2 separate regions of the Homo sapiens genome follow, and region 2 is linked to region 1. Evidence: promoter capture Hi-C in 16 types of primary human blood cells and fetal thymus (Javierre and others, 2016). All regions are on one chromosome and are shown on one strand. Each heading gives the region's core, a stretch centred on a gene start or on the middle of the fragment in contact. The rest is flanking DNA. Distances are from core to core; before and after follow the strand shown.

Region 1 (4,854 bases), core at 656-3,155:
GTAACATGAAGGTCGTGCTTCTCATTGCCTGGGGAGAAAGAAAAGCATTTGACGAATATGATTCTTTCACATACACCAATATAGGATGACACTTTATCACATTTATTTACCCAGCCTTCAAGGCCCAGCTCATATGCCACCTACTCCACAGAGCCTGCCCCCATGCCACCCAGCTTTCCTCTGGTGACCTCCTCAAGTATCTCTGTTTCCTCTATTATAATAACTAACAATATGAATGATATCTGCTAACATTTTAAGCATTTCATGCATAATCTAATTTAATCCTCAGATAAACCCCACGAAGTAGATCTACCTATTACTTCTTATTTCACAGATGAGCAAACTGTGACTTCAGGCAAGTTAAGGACTGCCTATGGAGACTCAACTGTTGGAATCAGAAGTTGATATCAGATCTAGCTGATTCCCAAGCCCACCTTTTTCATCACAAGCCATCTGCTTCCTGTGGCTTGACTGCCCTGTACCCTGTATTGTATTGGTCTCGTCTCGCTTGCTGTAATGGGCAAGTGACTGTTTTCCTCCAAGTCTCTCCCACTGAACACACTTGAGTGCATCCATGATTTGTGCTAAGTAAACAGACAAATGCATACGAACAGCAGAGCCTTTCTTTCTGAAGAAGAGACGCCAATTCTTTTCCAGGGATGCGGACAGCAAGGAGGGAGCCTGTGTACAGTACATTACACCAAGGTTTGGTTCCCCCAACAGCTCCGTGAGGTCAGCAGGAGCCAGGGTTACCAAATCTACTTCACAGAGGAGAAACCGGATTCTTAGAAGAAGCCGTCCATCCCAAGGTCACTCAAAACCGCAGGATCTAGAATCCAGGTCTCCAGATTCCCAGACCCTTGGGCCTCCCCTAGCTGGTTCTAGAGAAACCTCATGGACTCAGCTCTCCGGTGTACTGACTTCATTTGGTGGTGTGTCAACTCCAACAGTAGGCAGACCCAAAGGGTGCCCAGAGTACAACGCTTGGACCCACGGCCAACTCAAGCGGCGCACACGGAGAAGGCACTCAGCACACGAGGAGCACCCCGGCATGCACGAAGTTCTGACTTATCACACACGGAGCAGTCGTAGACCACATGGCCCAATATATGCCTGACACAAAGGGCACAATAACTGCGCGGGCACACAAACACAACCAGGCCCACGACGTAAAGCACGGAGAAGCTCAAACACCCAGGATCGCACAAATGACCAGAGACAAAATACACCGGCCACATGGAAAAGTGTACAGACACAAGCCCGGGACAAAAGACAGTTCCACGGACACAACCAATAACCCACGCTTCCGGACGCCAGGACAAGCGCAAGGTCACACGCTTCTGGAGGACACGTGACTAAACCCACAGACCCCGCCGGGCTTTCGGGACCTGCATGGAGCCCACCTGGCGCCCGACACTCACTGTGGGTGACAGTCACGGTGAGCCCAGCTGCCGCCATTTCCTCCCTGGTCACCTCCTCGCTCCGGGTCGACTCCTCGTCCCGGGTCACCTCCTGGCTCCGATTCATCTCTTCGCCCTGGGTCGCCTCCTCACTCTGGGTCGCCTCTTCACTCCAGGTCGCTTCCTCACTCAGGGTCAACTCCTCGCTCCGGGTCAACTCCTCGCTCCGGGTCGAGCGGCGCCGGGTTTTCTTCTTCATCCGCGGCCTGCGAGCGCCGGCGGCGGCGCCCCTGGTGGGTCGGTCATGCCCGCTGGCAGTACTCCGGGCAGGTGGACGCCCAGAGGGAGGCGGACCACGCTGGGCCGGGGGCTCCGACTGGCGCGGCTCCCGGCCTGGCCGAAGGGCGCGCAGCCGGGAACCCAGCCGCTCCCGGTCGCCTCGCGGTCTCCGCGCCCCCCCGCGCTGAGCCAGGCCCGCACTTGTTGACCGCCCAGCGATGGAAGCTGAGCGCGGCGTCTCACAACCCCGCCCGACTACTTCCCAGCCCCGCCCCGGCCTGCCGGCCCCGCCCTCGCCCTATGCCGCGTTAGTTGCCTCCAGGCCCCACCCACTCAACTGAGGCCCCGCCTTGCTACAGTAAAACCCCTCCCACTCCTTCTACCAACACCCCGCCCCCTGCAGGCTCTCTCCGAGAGCACCAAGTCCTTTTGCTCTCCATCCCCGGAAGACCCGGCTGAAAATCCGGAAAAAGAATCGGGAAACGCCAGGAGGCATATTGCGCTTGCGCACGGAGGGGCCGGAAGTCGAGGCGGGAGTGACTCTGCTTCCGTTTCTGGTTTTGCTCTAGTGTTTGGGTTTCTTCGCGGCTGCTCAAGATGAACCGACTCTTCGGGAAAGCGAAACCCAAGGCTCCGCCGCCCAGCCTGACTGACTGCATTGGCACGGTGGGCATTTGATCATGCATAAGTAGGCTCAGGACCTCTGACACACCCGACCCCGCCCACCCCCAGCCCCGGGCCCATATTCTTCCACTTCATTTCGGGTCCTGGGCCCCTTACACGTCGTCCCTCTCTATCTCACCTTCTCCCCTTCATCCCTGTTACCCAAGTCATTCCTAACGCCACAAACCAGGGAACCCCTAACCCCATCACTGCCTTGCCCTGCCAGCACCCAACCCGTTTTGATGCCCATTGCCCGTCCACTCGCTCTCGCCTTGATCCTCTCACCTCACCCAGCCCTAGGCCCATACACCCTTCCCACCTCATCCTGCCTGATCCCTTACCCTTCTTCCATCTGTCATCCCCAGTCCACATCAGGACTCAGCTTGATATCCTAGGTCAACATATCTGTGCCTTCGTCCTGGATCTCAGTAACACAAAACTCAGAACCCTAGCCCCTCAGATTAAGCCACCATCCCCGATTTAGGGAATGGCATTAGATCTACAATCAGCTGGTTTCACTTGGCACTGGCCCATTTCATGTGCCTCTTGGAGGAACTCTCAGCCTGGCTAGTCTCTGATTCTAGGGAAATTCCAACTCAACTCAGTGATTCTCAAATTATTTTCTGCCCCAACCCACTTGAAGGCTACCTGGTATATCAGAATCGGGGCAGTGTGGCGGGGGGTAAGAGAATAATTTATAAAGCCCAGGGTTTCTGGTTGGGAATACCCTTCTTTGTGAACCACTGTTTTTCACCCTTCCCCTTAAGCTCCTCTTTTCTTCCTCTGTATTCCTTCCTCTCTACCTGCCCCTTCTGGAATAAGTGTATTGCAGTAACTACCAGTGCATTTGATATTTTCCCCTAAGGTGGACAGTAGAGCAGAATCCATTGACAAGAAGATTTCTCGATTGGATGCTGAGCTAGTGAAGTATAAGGATCAGATCAAGAAGATGAGAGAGGGTCCTGCAAAGGTAAGGTGGGCAGCAACTGCTGCACAAGGTGCTGGCAGAGCCTAGTTTTAGCACCTATAGAAATAGGGCCTAGTTCGGCTGGGCGCAGTGGCTCATGCATGTAATCCCAGCACTTTGGGAGGCTGAGGCGGGTGGATCACGAGGTCAGGCATTTGAGACTAGCCTGGCCAACATAGCGAAACCCTGTCTCTACTGAAAATACAAAAACTTAGCTGGGCATGGTGGCAGGCGCCTGTAATCCCAGCTACTCAGGAGGCTGAGGCAGGAGAATCGCTTGAACCTGGGAGGCGGAGGTTGCAGTGAGCAGAGACCACACCATAGCACTCTAGCCCAAGTGACAGTGTGAGACTCCGTCTCAAAAAATAAGTGAAATAGGACCTAGTGCAGGGGCTGTGAGCATCCCTACAGAAGAGATGCTTACAGTCTGGTAAGGAGAAAACATGTGAGGGTGTATCCTTTAGGGAGGAGAGTTTGCAATCAAATATGGAAGGGAGGCTGGGGATTGATCTGGTGGAAAGAGATGCTGGTCACACGTCTAAAAGCATGTACATGAGAATTAGCATATTATACTGAGAAGGTGGTAATCTGGAGAGGAAGACTAGGCTGTGCTCAAGATCAATGACTTGCTAAGCTGGTCAGGTTAGGTTGGTATATTAGACTGCTTAAGGAGTGGCCTGCTGGGAAAAACTGAACTAGGCATCTGGGACCAGTGTTCTAATACACTGTCACTGCCTTCTAGTTGTGACCTTGATAAAGTCACTTATTTTCCACTCCTGTTAGGTAGAAACATAAAATACTGTGTTTAAGCACATGGACTGTGGATATAGAACTACCTTGTTTTTTCCAGATCCATAACTTATTAACCATGTGAGCCTGGGTATCACTGAACCTCTCTTTCCCCATCTGTAAAACAGAGATAATACCCACCTTACAGTATGAGGATTAAATGAGGTAATTGATGTGACCTGTGTACCACTATGTCTAGGATAAAGTAGTACTCAGTAAATATGAGTTATGATCATCTGTGAAGTAATAATACCTGTTTTTCCTTCCTCACTGGAGAAGACAAATAAAATGATCTACAGAATTCTATAGAAAAGGAAGGCTTTTCCCAGCCATCTTAGTGGATGGTGTGGAATGAAGAGCAACCAGAGGTAGGAAAGCCCATTTAGATTTGAGACAATGAAAGCCCAAACCATGGTGGTAGGAAACCAAAGAATCAGTTTGAAAGTGAGTTCTGAAATCAGCTAACAGGATGACTGTGCATGAAGAAACAACAGAAAGAGGAAAGATAAGGTTGATAAAAAGGTTTTCAACCTAGAGAGGTGAGAGATTGGTGGGCCATTGTTACTTATTTCAAAGGTGAGATAAGGTTCAGGAGTTTGGAATTGTTGAGGTTAAGTTGATGGGCTGTACAAGTGAAGAATCTCCCTAAGGCAACTGGATATACAGACTCAGCACTTTTGGGGCTAGAGGCAGAGATAATATGCATTAGGAAAAGAGAAAGTAGTTGAGGACTCTGGGATGTGGGATGCAAAGACA
Region 2 (4,854 bases), core at 823-3,322, 270 kb before region 1:
ATTTGAAAGATATTGCATTTTTTACAAATTGACAGTTTGTGGCAAATCTGTGTCAAGCAAGTCTTTCAGTGCCATTTTTCCAACAGCATGTGCTCACTTCAGGTCTCTGTGTCACATTTTAGTAATTCTCACAATATTTCAAACTTTTTCGTTATTATTATATCTGTTACAATGATCTGTGATCAGTGATCTTTGATCTTTGATGCTACTGGAAGAAAATGCCATCTAGGACTTTCACAGGTAGAGAGAAGTCAATGCCTGACTTCAAAGCTTCAAGGACAGGCTGTCTTGTTAGGGACTAATGCAGATGGAGACTTTAAACTGAAGCCAACGCTCATTTACCATTTCAGAAATCCTAAGGCCCTTAAGAATTATACTCAGTCCACTCTGCCTGTGCTCTATAAATGGAACAACAAAGCCTGGACGACAGCATGACTGACTGAATATTTTAAGATCTCTGTTAAGAACTACTGCTCATAAAAAAAAGATTCCTTTCAAAATATTACTGCTCATTGACAATGCACCCAAGATCCCTGATGGAGATATATTATACAGGGAGATAAATATTGTTTTCGTGCTTGATAAAACAACATCCATTCTGCAGCCCATGGATCAAGGAGTAATTCTGACTTTCAAGTGTTATTAATTAAGAAATACATTTCATAAGGGTATAGCTGCTATCAACTGTGATTCTTCTGATGGACCTGGAAAAAGTAAATTGAAAACCTTCTGAAAAGGATACAACCATTCTAGATGCCCTTAAGAACATCTGTAATTTATGGGAGGAGGTCAAAATATTAACATAAACAGGAGTTTGGAAAAAGTTGATTCCAACCCTTATGGATGACTTTCAGGGGTTCAAGACTTCAATGGAGGAAGTCACTCCCAATATAGCAGAAATAAAGAGAACTAAAATTATAAGTAGAACCTGAAGATGTGACTGAAATGCTGCAATCTCATGATCATACTTTAATGGATGAGGAGTTGCTTCTTATGGATGTGCAAAGAAAACGGTCTCTTGAGATGAAATCTATTCCTGATGAAGATGTAATGAACATTACCAAAACGCCAACAAAGGGCTGGGTGTTATGGCTCACACCTGTAATCCCAGCACTTTGGGAGGCCAAGGCGGGCGGATCACGAGGTCAGGAGATCGAGACCATCCTGGCTAACACGGTGAAACCCAGTCTCTACTAAAAATACAAAAAAATTAGCCGGGCGTGGTGGCGGGCACCTGTAGTCCCAGCTACTCTGGAGACTGAGGCAGGAGAATGGTGTGAATCCGGGAGGCGGAGCTTGCAGTGAACCGAGATCGCGCCACTGCACTCCAGCCTGGGCGACAGAGCGAGTCTCCGTCTCAAAAAAAAAAAAAAAAAGAAATTGCCACAGACATCCAAACCTTCAGCAACTATGACCCTGATCAGTCAGCAGCCACCAACGTCAAGGCAAGACCCCCCCTACATCAGCAAAAAGATCACAACTCACTGAAGGCTCAGGTGACTATTAGCAATTTTTAGCAAAGTACTTTTAATTAAGGTGTGTACATTGTTTGTTCAGCCATAATGCTATTGCACACTTAACAGACTACAGTATAGTATAAACATAACTTTTATATGCACTAAGAAACCAAAACATGCATATGTTCACTTTATTGCAGTTGTCTAGAACCAAACCCACGTCTCTGAGGTATGCCTGTATGTATACCCTTCAAGTATAATATACTGAACAGCATCTCCCAAATAAATCGCTCTTTTTTTTTTTTTTCTGAGACAGGGTCTCACTCTGTTGCCCAGATTGGGTGCAGGGCGTCATCACAGCTCACTGCAGCCTCAACTTCCTTGGGCTAAAGTGGTCCTCCAGCCTCAGCCTCTGGAGTAGCTGGGACTACAGACACACACCACCATGCCTTGCTAATTTATTTTATTTTGAGATGGGGTTCTCACTATGTTGCCTACACTGGTCTGAAACTCCTGGCCTCAAGCAATCCTCCTGTCTTGACCTCCCAAAGTGCACGGATTACAGGTAGGAGCCACACCTGGCCTAAGTCATTCTTAATATGGTCTCCTGGTATTCCTTTCTCCTAAAACCCAAATCCTATTTAACTTTCAAGCCTCACCTCCTCCCTAAAGCCTTCATTGAGCTGTCTTCTCTTCTCTACATCTTATTATTGGATGTGGTCAAACTACCTTCACAGTTCTCTGACTGTTTAATGTGGATGTAATTCTACTTTCCAAACAAGATTATAATCTCCCTGCTAACAGACTGCATCACTGCCTACGCATTCACAAAACAATGAGGAGGGGTTTCGGGAGATCACTGTCCTGGGCCAGGCCTAGTCTTTACTCCAGGATCCCCCGGTTTTCAGCACCTTTATCAAGTGCATACTATGTGCTAGGCACTATGCTAAATGTCTTACTTACATGGTCTCATTTTAACACTCACAACTCCATTCTGAGAAGAGAAAATTCAGGATGAGAAGATAAGTAACATGTTCAAGTCACATAGCCAATATGTGCCAGAACTACAATTTGAATTCCAAAGAATGGGTTCTTAACCACTGCATCATATAACTTTTGGCTTCACTCATTTGATCGTTCAGTCAAAATTACTACACTCCTGTGTATCTTGTGCCATTCTAGTACTGGGAATAAAGAGATAATATATGAGCCCAGCCTTCAAAAAACTCAGCCTTAGCCAGGCATGGTGGCACGTACCTGTAGTCCCTGCTACTTGGGAGACTGAGGTGGAAGGATTGCTTGAGCCTAGGGGTTCAAGTCCAGCTTGGGCAACACAGCAACACCTCATCTAAAAAAAATAAATCTTGTGGAGGAGAAAAACACAAACAATTATGTTAATAGTAGATGTGGTAAACATGATGATTGCTCTGTGCAAAGGGTGGAAGCACAATGCTAGAGTACCCAACCGAGATTGGGAGGAAGGAGGTGTCAGGAAAAAATTTCCTGGAGGAGGTGGACCTAAACTTTATAACTGAGTCCCATTTATAAACTGGGTTAATTAGGTGAAAAGGAGCAGCCTAATTAGGTGAGGAGCAGGAGGTGGAGAAAGGAAACAGGGAGAAGATTCCAAGCAAAGAGAACAAGGGCAAGTACACAAAGAAGAAATAGCACAGTACCCATGAAGATGCCATTCAGTGTTGCTGGAACCTAAAGCATGAGGCAGAGAAGAGGCTGGAGATACAGGCAGGGTTCAGAACAGGCAGAGCCCTGGCTGAGAAGCTCAAACTTTAGAACTTTCAATGGATTTTGCAAGCCAGTAGACAATGAATGTTTGCTGAATGAATTAGAGAAAAGAATGGATGAATGCATGGACAGATCTTTAAAGATTAAGCAGGAATTTGATACAGACTTGTTTCCAAAGACCATCTGGGGGTGGAGGGGAGTAATGTGAAGAAAAGATATGGGGGAACAGGCCTAGAAGCAGGGAAATCAGTTAGAAGGCCATGATATTGCAGGTAAAAGGACAACAGTAGAGATGGAGAAGACTGCACAGATTTGAGAGATGTTTAGGGGGTAAAACTATCAGGACTTAGTGATGAATGTGATAAGAGTTAAGTCCAGGAAAGACACTGAGTTCAGTTTCAGTCATCTGAATTTGAAGTGTCTGTGGGACTTGCAGGCAGAGCTGTCCAGGAGGATAGTCAGATGTGAGGGTAAAGCTCAGAGAGGTCTAAGCTGACAATTTCAATTTGGGGGCATGTAGGAGGTAGTTAAAACCAAGCCAGCTGATGGGTTCACTCAGGCAATGTGTACAGAATGAAAAGAACAGTTTTCATTCTGAATGCTGGTAATATTATGTATCTGTAACCTAATCTGGATGGTGGTCACATAGGTATAATCATTTTATAAAAACTGGTCAAGCTTCACATCCACATGTATGTTTATTGCAGCACTATTAACAATAGCAAAGAGTTGGAACCAACCCAAATGCCCATCAATGATAGACTGGATAAAGAAAATGTGGCACATATATACCATGGAATATTATACAGCCATAAAAAAGAATGAGTTCATGTCCTTTGCAGGGACATGGATGAAGCTGGAAACCATCATTCTCAGCAAACTAACACAGGAACAGAAAACCAAACACCACATGTTCTCACTCATAAGTGGGAGTTGAACAATGAGAACACATGGGCAGAGGGAGGGGAACATCACACACTGGGGCGTGTCAGGGGGTGAGGGGCTAGGGGAGGGATAGCATTAGGAGAAATACCTAATGTAGATGACAGGTTGATGGGTGCAGCAAACCACTATGGCACTTAGTATACACCTATGTAACAAACATGCACGTTCTGCACATGTATCCCAGAACTTAAAGTATAAAAAAAAAATTGGTCAAGCTAAAAAAAAAAAAAGAACAGTTTTTCATTGTTTATATGCCAAAGTCACAAACAACAGAAACACCCAACATTTTAGGGAAGGAGGAAAATGACTACCCATAGCAGAAATGACTGGTAAGAAAGGCACATGGAGAACAGCTAGAATGTAAATTCCTTAAGAGAAAACAATTTATCTGTCTTGTTCATCTCTGTATCCCAATCAATACTTGTTGAATAAATCATCTGAGAGCACTGACACGTAAAGCAAAGAAGAAGGGAGTAAAGGGATGACCAAGTTCCAAAAGCAGCAAAGAGATCCAGTAATAATCAAAAAATTTTTATCTGGTTTGACAATAGTCACTGGTGACCTTGGGGTGAAATTTCAGGGGAATGATGGGTCTGAGAGCTAGATACAGAAGGAAACAAAAGGTGAGGAAATGGAGGCAGAGTTCAGAATACTCACTAAAACAGTTTGGATATAAAGAGAAAGAAAGTTATTGGATGACAGCTAAAGT

The links. The method cuts DNA at HindIII sites, captures the fragments that hold promoters and counts their contacts. A CHiCAGO score of 5 or more calls a contact.
Region 2: a contact is called between a fragment that was not itself captured here and the fragment with the promoter of BAG1 in region 1, in 1 of 17 cell types (neutrophils). The highest score is 5.4, in neutrophils.

The regions. Positions count from the first base shown.
Region 1 is chr9:33,262,803-33,267,656 of GRCh38, forward strand. It overlaps BAG1 (BAG cochaperone 1), which reads right to left and starts at 1,906. Exons shown (of 7, transcript NM_004323.6): 1 at 1,422-1,906; 2 at 1-28. The coding sequence starts at 1,872. It overlaps CHMP5 (charged multivesicular body protein 5), which reads left to right and starts at 2,247. Exons shown (of 8, transcript NM_016410.6): 1 at 2,247-2,345; 2 at 3,208-3,312. The coding sequence starts at 2,277. RefSeq lists enhancers at 915-964, 1,095-1,684, 2,215-2,454 and a silencer at 1,715-2,034. The HindIII fragment of the contact is 24,709 bases long and covers 1-4,854 here.
Region 2 is chr9:32,994,529-32,999,382 of GRCh38, forward strand. All of the region lies in intron 1 of APTX (aprataxin), which reads right to left. Among named protein-coding and RNA genes, the nearest start is that of APTX, 4.7 kb to the right of the region's middle. The HindIII fragment of the contact is 3,608 bases long and covers 269-3,876 here.